Linked DNA regions of Homo sapiens: all the other regions are linked to region 2. The links are contacts of gene promoters, found by promoter capture Hi-C in blood cells and fetal thymus (Javierre and others, 2016). All regions are on one chromosome and are shown on one strand. Each heading gives the region's core, a stretch centred on a gene start or on the middle of the fragment in contact. The rest is flanking DNA. Distances are from core to core; before and after follow the strand shown. Region 1 holds the start of NOD2 (nucleotide binding oligomerization domain containing 2). Region 2 holds the start of NKD1 (NKD inhibitor of Wnt signaling pathway 1). Region 3 has its middle 23 kb from the start of LINC02178.

Region 1 (4,122 bases), core at 975-3,474, 150 kb before region 2:
CTGTCACCAGTGACCTCCCATTGCTCAATCCTCAGCCCTCAGCCTGCTTGCTCTGCCAGGGGCATTGGTCATATTTGTTCCCTCCTTCCTCTTTGGGGCATTTTCTTCATTTCCTCCAGGACACCCCAACTCTCTGATTTTCACTCTTTCTGTCTTCTTGGCTGGTTCCTAACACTGGGGGCCCCAGCACTCAATGGTTAGACCCCTTCTCTTCTCCATATCACTCCATCCCTAGATGAGCCCACCTGCTCTTGTGGCTTTAAATACCAGTTATATGGTGATGATGCCCAAAGTTTTATTTTCAACTCCAACCTCCGCCCTTAACTTTTCCCAACTGCTTACTCATCATTGATGCCTAATGGGCAGCTCAAACTCCACAAGCACAAAACCAAACTCTTGATCTCTCCGCTAAGCAACTCCCATTTCAGTTCATGGCAGCTTCAAACCTCCAGAAGCTCGAGCCAAACACTCAGAATCATCTTTGACTCTACCTTTCTCTTGCACCCCAAACCCTATCGACACGGCCTTTGAAATATATCCCAAATCTGAATGTCTGGTTTTCTTTTTTTTAACCACCTCTGGGCCATGGGCAAGACACCATGGTCTCTCCCGAGAATGACAGCAATGATCCGCTCAACGGGCTCTCCTTCTGCCCTTACCCCACCCCCCCCATGATCCATTCTCCACCCCACAGCTAGATGGGCCTGCCAGACCCCAAGTCAAAGCAGGTGACTCCTCTGTTCCAAACCCGTGCTCCCATCATGCTCAGAGTGAAAACCAAAGCCTCCCAGCCCCCCAGATACTCATGTGGCTCACCCCTCAATTCCTTATGACTTTGCCCAGCTATCGTGGTCTTGGGGAAGCCTTCCCTGGTTGTGCTATATACAATGCAATACCCAGCCCCAGCACCCCATCCTGCTTCCCAGCTTTGTTTTACTCGTAGTACTTCCCGCCACCTGCTACGCCATGTATTTACTTATTTCATTGCTGTCCATTCCTTTCTAGAGTGTGCACTCCATGAGGGCAGGGGGTTTTGTCTGATTTTCCTACTGCTCTGTCTCGTGTCTCATCCAGTGCATGAATGATGACTGCTGGAAAGAATGAAAGAACTGACTTGCTCTGCATGGCTCCGGGAGACAGACATGGAACCAAGGTGTAGAATCTGTAAGCCACAGATTTTAGCTAAAGGAAACAAGAGCTGCAAGGCACTAAAAAGCCACCTCATCAGTAATAAGCTCCCCACCACTGGGCATGTGTCACAGAGGGGCTCTGCACTGGGTAGGAGGGAGGTGGGCTGGATGAGGATGCTTCCAGCCTCAGATCCCAGGGTGCAGCGAGGCAAAGGGGCCTTGAGCAGCCAACAAACTCAGGGGCCCCAGCAGCCCCATGGCTGAGTGATCGGGACAGGCAAGTACAGGTGGTGGGGATGTCACTCTGGTCTTTTTCACTAAGGGGTCAGGGGAGGGTGACAGGGCAGGTGTTTCCCCTCTGTAGAACAAGGACCCTGGAGGAGGCTAGGTCACAGCCCATGGGGAAACCAAGGCCATGGCAGGAGAGGCTCAGAAAGAGCAAACTCAGAAGCAGGGGTCCAGCCCCCAGCCCTCATGCAGCTTCAGGAGGTCCTCCCCAGGGGGATTGGGGTGGAGGGCTTTTCAGTTTGTTGGAATGAAAGCAGGACCAGATGGCTGCTCCATCAACCTGAGAAGCATAGGAGAGCAAACAGCTGGGGGATGTGGCCTCGCAGGTCCTGGTGTGGGCTGTCTGGGAAGGGATGGATTTGAACTTAGATCTCACACCCAACAAGGGAGAAGGAGGAGGCAGGAGATTCCCATAAGAGGTACAGAGAGCAGCAGCAGGATCCTCCAGGCAGACTCTCTCACTTATACCCACCCACTCACTGGCATGGTGAAGCTGGGGAAACTGAGTCCCACAGAGAGGAAGGAAATCAAAAGAGTGGCCCAGGGGCCTCCCCAACCTCGAGATGCCCCCTTTCCGTCTCACTTCCCATCTACATTCTGGGACTCCCCCAGGAGAAACCGAGGCAACCCTTGCCCAAGCCCTGCGGCCAGGACGGCTCAGAAGCCAAGTGTTCAAGTCCCGGGGGTGGGACCCTCGGCGCCCACAGTCTCCCCCCAGCCCACCCCCAGGCGCTGGGCACAGCACTCACCGCGAGCCGCCTGCGCGCCGACTCCAAGGCCCACTCCGGGCCACGACTCCCGGCTCCGGCTCCGGCTCGGGCTGCGGCTCCGGGTGCGCGGGCGCTCGGCTCCGCCCCCGCCCGGACCCCGCCCCTGCTCTGCCGGGACCGCAGCACCCGCTCCTGTCCCGTGGCCCCGCAGCCCCGCAGCCCCGCAGCCCCGCAGCGCCGGCTCCAGGGCTGGCCAGGCTTACCTGGGACAGGGCAGGACCGGGGCTTCCTGCGGGGCTGGACGGCCCTGGCTGTGTGCCCTAGCCAGTGTGCCTCTCTTTCTGGGCCACGTTTCAACCAGGAGGGAATCGGGGAGTCCTCGGAACAACCCGCTTCCCAACACATACACATACACACACACACACACCACACACCACACACACCGCTTCCCAGCACACACGCGCACACACACACACCACACACACACCGCTTCGCAACACACACACACGCCCTGCTTCCCCCCCACACGCAAACATGTTTCCCAATACACACACACAGCCCTCGCTTCCCCCCACACACAAACATGCTTCCCAATACACACACAGCCCTCGCTTCCCCCAACACACATACCTTGCTTCCCAACACTCACATACACACACACACACGCCCTGCTTCCCCCCACCACAAACATGCTTCCCGATACACATACACCCCCTACTTCCAACACACACACCCTGCTTCCCAACACTCACACACACACCACTTCCCAACACACACACACCCTGCTTTCCCAACACATACACCCCACACACACCGCTTCCCAACACACACGTGCACACACACACACACCCCACACACACACCACTTTCCAACACAAACACACACTACACTCCCTGCTTTCCCAACACACACACACCCCACACACACTGCTTCCCAACACACACGTGCACATACACACACCCCACACACACACCACTTCCCAACACACACACACCACACCCCACACACACCACTTCCCAACACACACACCGCTTCCCAACACACACAAACATGCTTCCCAATATACACACACCCCACTTCCCAACACACACACATCGCTTCCCAACACACACATCGCTTCCCAACACACGCCTCACTTCCCAACACACACACACACACACACGCACACACAGCCAAAACTAGGAAAACTTTTCCAGAGTGTGACAGGTTACATGTTAGGTAAGAGTGGACTGGTCATTTAAGGTTCTTTTTTTTCATTTTCCTTTCAGTTTTTCCGTTTATGTTGAATGGAGTTTATTTCTCAGTTTAGTACTAATAGGGTTTGAGTACCTTTCTAGCACTGCCTAGATTACTTGGCTCTGAAACTATCTAATTAGCTTTAATAGCATTGTTTTTGTTTCCATTAAATATATTTTATTTTACATTCTTCTGTTCTCCGGAGCAAATGACACCGGTTTTCCATTTAACATGTTAATGTAAATGTTCCTTTTGAAACTCATATTTGGTTGTTTTAAAAAATGTGAAGTCAATTTTTAAAAATAACGAAAATAACTGGCATCTAGAAAGTGTTTACCATGTGCTAGTCTTTACAGACAGTAACTCAGTTACTTCCACCTCTAGGGTATTGACTATTATTGCCTCTAACTTATAGATGCAGAAACTGAGGTACACATTTGAACTTTGATCTCACGCCCACCAAGGGAGAAGGAGGAGGCAGGAGATTCCCCTAAGAGGTGCAGAGAGCAGCAGTAGGATCCTCCAGGCAGACTCGCTCACTTACACCCACCCACTCACTGGCATGGTGAAGATGGGGAAACTGAGTCCCACAGAGAGGAAGGTACTCAAAAAACAGTGGCCCCCTCTGAGACCTGAAGCCCGGGCTCCTCAGGACTTCTCACTCCTGCCAGGGGCCTCCCCAGCCTCGAGATGCCCCCTTTCCTCTGGCACCAGAGATGGGGATTTGCCCCAGGCCTCTGGCACAGATGAATGCTCTA
Region 2 (3,976 bases), core at 828-3,327:
AATACAAACACATCTGAAGTCTCCACTGGCCTCTCCCCAGCCCATGGATAAGACCAAAGAACTAACCAGACCTGAGACTCAGTCTATTCCCCCTCTAAGTTAAAAAAAAAAAAAAAAATTAAATGTCACATCAAAAAGTTGATTCATCCTTTGATCCTAGGCTTGCGCGAGTTCCACGCAGACTGCCTGAAAGCCCCGTGCAGAGTTCCGGAGCTCACAGGACATCTGTGAACGCCAAGTCCCAGGCCAGGAGCTGGGGCTGGACTCACTCATTCCCATCACACTTAGTGCTCCTCCAGGAACTCCAGCCTCAGAGACACACGGGGTGAAGGCTCAGGGCTCTGCCCAGGCTACAGTGGAATGAGGCCCTCTATCTCATATGCCAAGTAAGGGGTCTTCCAGGTCTCAGTCCCCCTAGATCTGCTACCCAGAGGGCCGCCTGCTCTACTGGGGTTCCTGTACAGGTGGTACTGATGAATGCCACAGACAATCAGAACATATTCAGATCCTGGGGCCAGCACAGCTCTGCCTTCCACCCAGACACCCCTAATACCCCCTTCTCTCTAGCCCCTACTCCACCTCCACCTTTGAATGCTGGTGGCAGAAACAAGGTAGAAGTCAGAGCAGGCCCCCAAATCCCGCCGGTACAGACACGATTCCCCATCAACTGGACCTTCACCACCTCCCCACCTAGGACCTTTCCCCCAGGCAGCCCTCTGCCTCCAGCTGGGCACTTCGAGGTTCTCCAAGGCATGCGGGCAGAGGGTCGCGTTGGTGGGGCAGGGGGCAGCTGAGAAGAGATTTTCAGACCCAGAAGCTGTGCAGGAAAGTGCTCAAAGTTGGGGTGCATGGGTTTGGGGACCCATCTCTGAGGCTGAAAGGAGGCCAGGAGGTGGGGCAGGGGTGGGGAATCATACCCGGGTGCTTCGGCCTATGGTGCCCGCCAACCGCAGCTGTCGGGGTCCCGAGACACCGCCCGGGCAGCGCTGTCTCCCGATCCACTCCTCGATGCCCTTCCGAGCCCAGGCAGCGCTCACGGCGAAGCTGTCACCTGGGACGGGGACGACATGAAGCCCCTGAGTCTGGCTCCAGGTGCCAAAAGTTACCCCCGCGGAGGGAAGAAGGAGGCGCGGTGGGAGGCGAAGGACCACGGCACGGGGGCCAGGAGGGGGTTCGCGGGCTGGGGCAGGAGCCAAGAGAGGGACGCGGGTAAGTAAAGGGGGGTTCAGCGAAGCCCTAGGAGCGAGGAGCCAGAAGGGGGCAAGAGGGGTGAGCAGTACCCCAGGAGGACGGGTTTAGGATCAGACCAGGGAGCACTGGCAGCCAGGACTGCGGAGGAGAGGGCTGGGGGTCAGGAGAGGGGCCGCAGTAGGTGCAGGAGCCAGGATATCGGAAGAAGGGCCGGGGGGCAGGAAGAGGGGGCAGGGTCTTGCGGGGAGGCGCTTGGGGGTCTGAAGAGAGGGTGCCGTGAGAGCCGAGGGCAGGGACGCGGGAGGGGGAGGGGTTGAGGGTCAGCGGTGGGAGCGCAGGACCGCGGGGAGCGGGTAGGAGGGACAGAGGAGGGGGCGCGAAGGCTGCTCAGGGAGCGGGCTTGGGGGGCCGGTGGCCGGAACTGGGGCTTCGGGGTGGCCCTGGTCATAAGACCTGGCGGGCTGGGCCGTTCTGCCGCGGCCGCGGTGTCCCCCGCGTCCATCCCCGAGGTCTGCGCCCCGCGCGCCCCTACCTTCCGGGCTCTCCCTGCGCTTGCACACGGCGGCTGCAGGCACATCGCGAGGCGGCGGCGGCGGCGGCAGCCGCGGCGGCGGGAGAAGGAAAGAAAGGAAGGGAGAGAGTTAGCGACCGCGGCGGCGACGGCGGCGGGGCCCGGGGCGAGCGCGCGGGCGGGGGCACTGACCCGGCTTGGAGTGAAGTTTCCCCATGCTGGGGCTGCGGCGGCCGGGAGCGTCCCTAAGCCATGCGCCCGGCCCGCGGGCCTGGCGCCTCCCTTGGCTCTCCTCCTCCCGAAGCAGCCCCCGAGCCGAGCGGAGCCCGAGGCGGCGCCGGGACGCGCTCCTGCCGCCGTCGCCGCGGCCCGACTGACGCCCGGGAGCGCCGAGCCCCCAGCCCGCCGCCGCGGCCCGCGCCTCCCCGCGCGCCCATTGGCCGGTGCGGCGCATCAAAGGCAAGGCTGGTTGCGGCGGGGGCGGGGCCGGAGGCGGGGCAGGGCGGGGACGAGGGCGGGGCGCTGACGGGAGGGGCGGGACACAGTCCGCGCTCCCTGCCGCGGTCTGGGGCCGGGGGCCGAGCTCCAGGGCTGGCGACCCGGCGGGGCGGCTTGTCCAGGAGGCGTATTGGGACAGAACAGCCCGGCCATCGCTAACTGTACTGTCACTTCCCTCCGCTCCACGTTCTCTCTAAACGGGCAGGGCGGGACTCGGCGGCTCCAATTTACAGGTGGGGAAACTGAGGTCGGGAGCGGAGACCTTAGCTGCTCAGGTGCAAGCTTCGGCAGCGCTGCCTTTTCCCAGTCTTCCCACGACCTACCTTCTGCAGAAAGTGTTCATTACCCGCCCCGTGACCCGCCCCCCACCACCGCACTCCTCTAGTTTCTTATTTGGGGAGTCCAGGAGGAGCCCCCAGCGCACCCCGGGCCAGTGTGAGCCCAGCCCTCTCCAGGCAGCGACAAATGTCCAAAGCGCCCCGTTATCAGCCAGTCTCTGGGATCTCCTCGTCCGGGGGCCCGTGGGTGCCCGCCCGGGTCGGGGCGCGCTGCCAAACTGCGCGGCCCGGAAGGGGGTAACCGCTGAGTCTTTGATCTTCCTTGGTTTCCGCTCCCCGCTGCAGTTCGCCAGACCCAAGGGTTTGTTTGTTTTGTCTGGGGAGGTCTCTGCGGGGAGGTCGCGCGGGGGGAGGGGGATGGTGGCGGTCGACATCAAGGGATTCCACCCCACCTTTGTGGCTCTCAGAACGCCTGCCCCCTTCTGGGGACACTGTGGGTCCGTGTTACGCTCGTCCTGGCACCAGGCAGCTCTGGCGTGGGAAAAGAAAACCCGCAGCTCAGAGTGAGACCAGCCCCGACCTTTGGAGTGAATTACCTGTGCTCAGTTTTGTGATCTGTATAATGGAGGCTCCATTCTGCCCTTTTTGCCGACTCTCTAGAGCAGCACTGCCCAATAGAAATATAATGTGGGCCACATTTGTAATTTTAAATTTTCTTGTCGCCACATCTTTTAGAAGTAAAAAGAAATAGATGAAATATTAATAATATATTTCGCTTAACTCAATACAGTCAGCCCTCCTTATTCACAGGTTCCACATCTGTGGCATCAACCATCTGTGGACTGAAAATATGCAAAAAGAATAATACAGCAAAAATAAAGAATAAAAAACTTTTTAATATAGTATAACAACTATTTACATAACATTTACATTGTATTAGGAATTACAAGGAATCTAGAGATGATTTAAAGTATTCAGAAGGATGTGTGTAGGTTATATGCAAATACTACAGGACATTTTATATAGCGGACTTGACATCTGGGGATTTGGGTATCCTCTAGGATCCTGGAACCAGTCCCCAAAGACACCAAGGGAACACCATATATCCAAAATAGTATAATTTCAAGATATAATGAGATATTTTACATTCTTTGTATTGCGCTAAGTCTTTAAAATTCAGTGTGTATTTTACACTTAAAACACATCTCAAAGACTAGCCATATTGCAAGTGACCATTTGCACTTGGCTAGTGGCTACTGCATTGGGCAGCATCGCTCTGGAAGATCTACATGTCTCAAAAGGACATTAGGAATTCACAGCCCCCCAGAGTCATAAATCTCTTCATCCAAGTGTCTTACTTTCATGTTCCAAGCTTCCTTTTTTAACACCCTTTTTGGTGGAAACGAAGGCTAATGTTATAAGCAGGTACACTAAAATCCTGTTGGCCAGGTGGTTTCATTTGAAGAGTGCTGAAACCACAAAAATATATTACTGTTGT
Region 3 (4,117 bases), core at 1,186-3,685, 130 kb after region 2:
CATCAGCAAACTTAAAGAAAAAATCATTGAAGTTATCCAGTCTGCTATGGTCTGAATTATGTCCCCAGTAAATGTATATGTTGAAACCCTAACACCACCAATGTGACTGGACATAGTGCCTTTAGGAGGTAATTAAAGTAAAGTGAGATTGGGGCAGAACCCTCACCTGATAGAATTGAAGACCTTTAAGAAGAGAAAGATCCCTCTCGCTCTCTCTGTCTCTCCCCCCACACACACATAGACAAAGAAGTCATGTCAGCATACAATGAGAAGGCAACAAGGCAAGAGAAGATGCCTCAGAATAAAACTCATTTTTGCTGGCACCTTGATCTTAGATTTCTCAGTCTTGAGAGCTGTGAGAAATAGATGTCTATTGTTTCACCCACACTATGGTATTCTATTCTGTTATAGCAGCCTGAGAAAATTAATACCCGTTCTGAAGAGTGGAAAGAAAAATACAGAAAGAAAGAAAAATGAACAGAAACTGAGGGAGCTGTGGAACACCATCAACAATACCAGCATACAAACCACAGTAATCCAGGTAGGAGAATAGAGAGAAAAGGTGGCAGAAAAAAACATTCAAAGAAAGAGTGGCCAAATTTTTCTCAAATGTGATGAAATGCATCCATATACATATCCAACAAGCTCAATAAACCCCAAGTAGGTTAAACTCAAAATATCCACATCAAGACACATTACAACCAAACTACTGAAACACAAAGGCAAAGAGAACTTTGAAAACAGCAAGGGAAAAGCTATTTGGGTCACATATAAGAGATCTTCAATAAGATTAATAGCTGATTTCTCATCAGAAATTATGGAGGCCAGAAGGCAGTGGGATGATATTTAACATGCTGAAAGAAACTGTCAACCAAGAGTTCTGTATCCAGCAAAACTATCTTTCAGCCTGGCCAACATGGTGAAACCCCATCTCTACTAAAAAATACAAAAATTACTTGGGTGTGGTTGTGCACACCTGTAATCACAGCCACTCTGGAGGCTGAGGCACAAGAAGCACTTGAACCCAGGAGGTGAAGGTTGCAGTGAGATGAGATCATGCCACTGCACTCCAGCCTGGGCAACAGAGTGAGATTCTGTCTAAAAAAAAAAAAGAAGAATGAATGAATGAAGGGAAAATTAAGACATTTCCATATAAACAAAACCTGAGGAAGTTCATTACCAGTGGATCTTCCCTACAAGAATTACCAAAATAAGTCCTTCAGTCTGAAACAAAAGGACACTAGCTATTAACTCAAAGCCATAAGAAGAAATAAAGAACACTGGTAAAGGCAACTACATAGGTAAATATAAAGTCAGTATTATTGTTCTTTGGGTTTGTAACTTCTCTTTTTTTTCTATGTGATATAAAAGGCAAATGCATAAAACAATTATAAGTCTATGTTAATGAACACACGTGTAAAAATGTGATTTGTGACAATTACAAAACAAAGAAAGAAGAACAGAGATGTATAGGAGTAGAGTATGTATACACCTTTGAAACTACATTGGTACTTTTGCAAACTAGGTTGTTATAAGTTTAAGATGTTAACTGTAATCTCCCAAAGTAGCTATTAAGAAAATAAAATTAAAATTCACAGAAAAGGAAAGAAAGGAACCAAAATGGTACACTAAAAAAAATCGACTAAATACCAAAAAAAGCAGTAAGGGAGAAATAGAGGAACAAAAAATATATAATACATATAGAAAAAAAAAGCAAAATGGTAGAAGTAAACCCCCCTTTATCAGTAATCACATTAAATGTAAATTACTCTCCTATTAAAAGGCAGAGCTTAGCAGACTGAATAAAAGAGAAACATGATCCATCTAAATGCTGTTTACATAAGACTCACTTTAGATATAACAATACAAAGAGATTGAAATTAGAAGGATAGAGAAAGGTATTCTATGCAAATAGTAACCAAAAGATAGCCAGGTGGCTATATTATTGTCAGACAAAACAACCTTTTAGTGAAAAAAGCTCAACAAAAGACATAAAAGGTGAGTATATATTGATAAAAGGTTTAATTGGGCAAGAATATATAACAATTGTAAACCTATATAAACCTAACAACAGAGACCTAAGATAGATGAAGCAAAACTTGACAGAACTGAAGAGACAAATATCTCTAGGAAGCATGGGAAAGCAGAAAAATTTAAAAAAAAAAAAAAGAATTGAACAGAGAAATAGACAGTACTACAATAATTGGAACCTTCAATACCTCACTTTTAATAATAAACAACAATAAGATAGAACATCAGTAAGAAAGCAGAAGATATAAATAACACTATAAACCAATTAGACCTAAAAGACATATACAGAACATTCTACCCAACAGCATCAAAATACACATTCTTCTAGGTACACATGGAACATTATCCATGATAGACCATATGTTAGGGTACAAAACAGTCTTATGAAAAATTTTTAGTTGAAATTATACAAAGTATATTTTGCAACTACAATGGAATAAAACTAGAAATTAATAGTAAAAGGAAAACAGGAAAATTCACAAATATGTGAAAATTAAACAACAAATCTTAAATAAGCAATGGAGCAAAGAATAAACCACAAAGAAAATTAGAAAATATTTTTTCAAAAATGAAAATGATAACACAGCCAACCAAATGTATGGAATATAGTGAAAGCAGTGCTATGAGGGAAACCTATAGCTGTAAATGCATACATTTTTTAAAAAGAAAGATCTCAAATCAATAACCCAATTGTATACCTTAAAAAACTAGAATGAGAAGAAAAAACTAGACCTAAGCTAACAGAAGGAAGGAAATAATAAAGATTAGACTGAAGACAGAACACACAGACACACACACACACACACACACATGCATGCACACACACACACACACACACTACGGAAAGAATAGAAAAGCTATAGAGAAATATCAACTAAACAAAACATTAGTTCTTTAGTTCTGGGTTTTTTTTCTTTTCTTTCACTCTTAACACTATTCAATGATGGTTCTTTGAAAGATCAACAAAATGGATAAACCTTTACCTATACTGACTAACAAAAAAAAGAGGAAAGACACAAATAACTAAAATTAAAAATGAAAATGAGGACATTACTACCAATTTTATGGAAATAAAAGGGATTCTAAGAAAATACTATCAACAACTGTATGCCAGCAAATTGGATACTCTAGATGAAATAGACAAATCCTAGAAACACATAAACTACCAAAACTGACACAAGGAAAAATAGAAAATCTGGATAGACCTATAACAAGTAAGGAGATTGAACTAGCAATCAAAACCTCCCAACAAAGAAAAGCTCAGGACCAGATGGCTTTACTAGTGAATTCTACCAAATATTTAAAGAAGAATTAATATCAATCTGTCTCAGATTCTTCCAATATACTGAAGAGGAGGGAACATCTTATAACTTATAAGGCCAGTATTAACTCTGATACCAAAATTGGGCAAAAAGGGTATAAGAAAGGAAAACTACAGACCAATATCTCTTATGAATACAGGTGCTAAAATTCTCAACAAAATACTAGGAAACCGAATTCAGCAACATAGTAAAAGGATTATACGTCACAATTAAGTGGGATTTATCTCTGGAATGCAAGGATGGTTCAACATAAGAAAATCTATCAATGTAATACATAACATTAATAGAATGAAGGAAAAATTATCATCGTCTCAATTGATGCAGGAAAAATGTTTGCAGAATCCAATATCCTTTCATAATAAATAAGCTAATCAACAACTAAATAAGCTAAGAATAGAGTAGAACTTCCTCAACATGATAGAGGCTATATTTGAAAAATCTACAGCTGATATCATATTCAATGATGAAAGACTGAAATCTTTTCCCCTTAGAACAGAAAAAAACAAGAATGCCTGCTTTTATCATTTCTGTGCAACATAGTAATAGAAGTTCTATCCAGAGCATTTAGACAAGAAATAGAATTAAAAAGCATCCATATTGGAAAGGAAGAAATAAAATTCGTTTATTCACAGATGATATGCTCTTTTATGTAGAAAACCCTAAAGAAGAACACACACACACACATACGCACACACACAGTTAAGCTAATAAAAAAATTCAGTAAACTTGTAGGATATAAAATCAAGACACAAAAATCAGTTGTG

Evidence for each region. The method cuts DNA at HindIII sites, captures the fragments that hold promoters and counts their contacts. A CHiCAGO score of 5 or more calls a contact.
Region 1: the fragment with the promoter of NOD2 here is called in contact with the fragment with the promoter of NKD1 in region 2 in 6 of 17 cell types (non-activated CD4 T cells, monocytes, naive CD8 T cells and 3 more); the score reaches 6.4 in non-activated CD4 T cells.
Region 3: a contact is called between a fragment that was not itself captured here and the fragment with the promoter of NKD1 in region 2, in 4 of 17 cell types (non-activated CD4 T cells, total CD4 T cells, naive CD4 T cells and 1 more). The highest score is 7.7, in non-activated CD4 T cells.

What each region holds. Positions count from the first base shown.
Region 1 is chr16:50,691,708-50,695,829 of GRCh38, reverse strand. It overlaps NOD2 (nucleotide binding oligomerization domain containing 2), which reads right to left and starts at 2,224. Exons shown (of 12, transcript NM_001370466.1): 1 at 2,168-2,224. RefSeq lists enhancers at 1,255-1,334, 1,575-1,624 and a silencer at 1,995-2,504. The HindIII fragment of the contact is 14,983 bases long and covers 1-4,122 here.
Region 2 is chr16:50,546,497-50,550,472 of GRCh38, reverse strand. It overlaps NKD1 (NKD inhibitor of Wnt signaling pathway 1), which reads right to left and starts at 2,077. Exons shown (of 10, transcript NM_033119.5): 1 at 1,895-2,077; 2 at 1,724-1,756; 3 at 918-1,051. The coding sequence starts at 1,919. RefSeq lists silencers at 1,755-1,944, 1,985-2,434. The HindIII fragment of the contact is 5,196 bases long and covers 1-2,484 here.
Region 3 is chr16:50,416,038-50,420,154 of GRCh38, reverse strand. No RefSeq gene overlaps it. Among named protein-coding and RNA genes, the nearest start is that of LINC02178, 23 kb to the right of the region's middle. The HindIII fragment of the contact is 7,581 bases long and covers 1-4,117 here.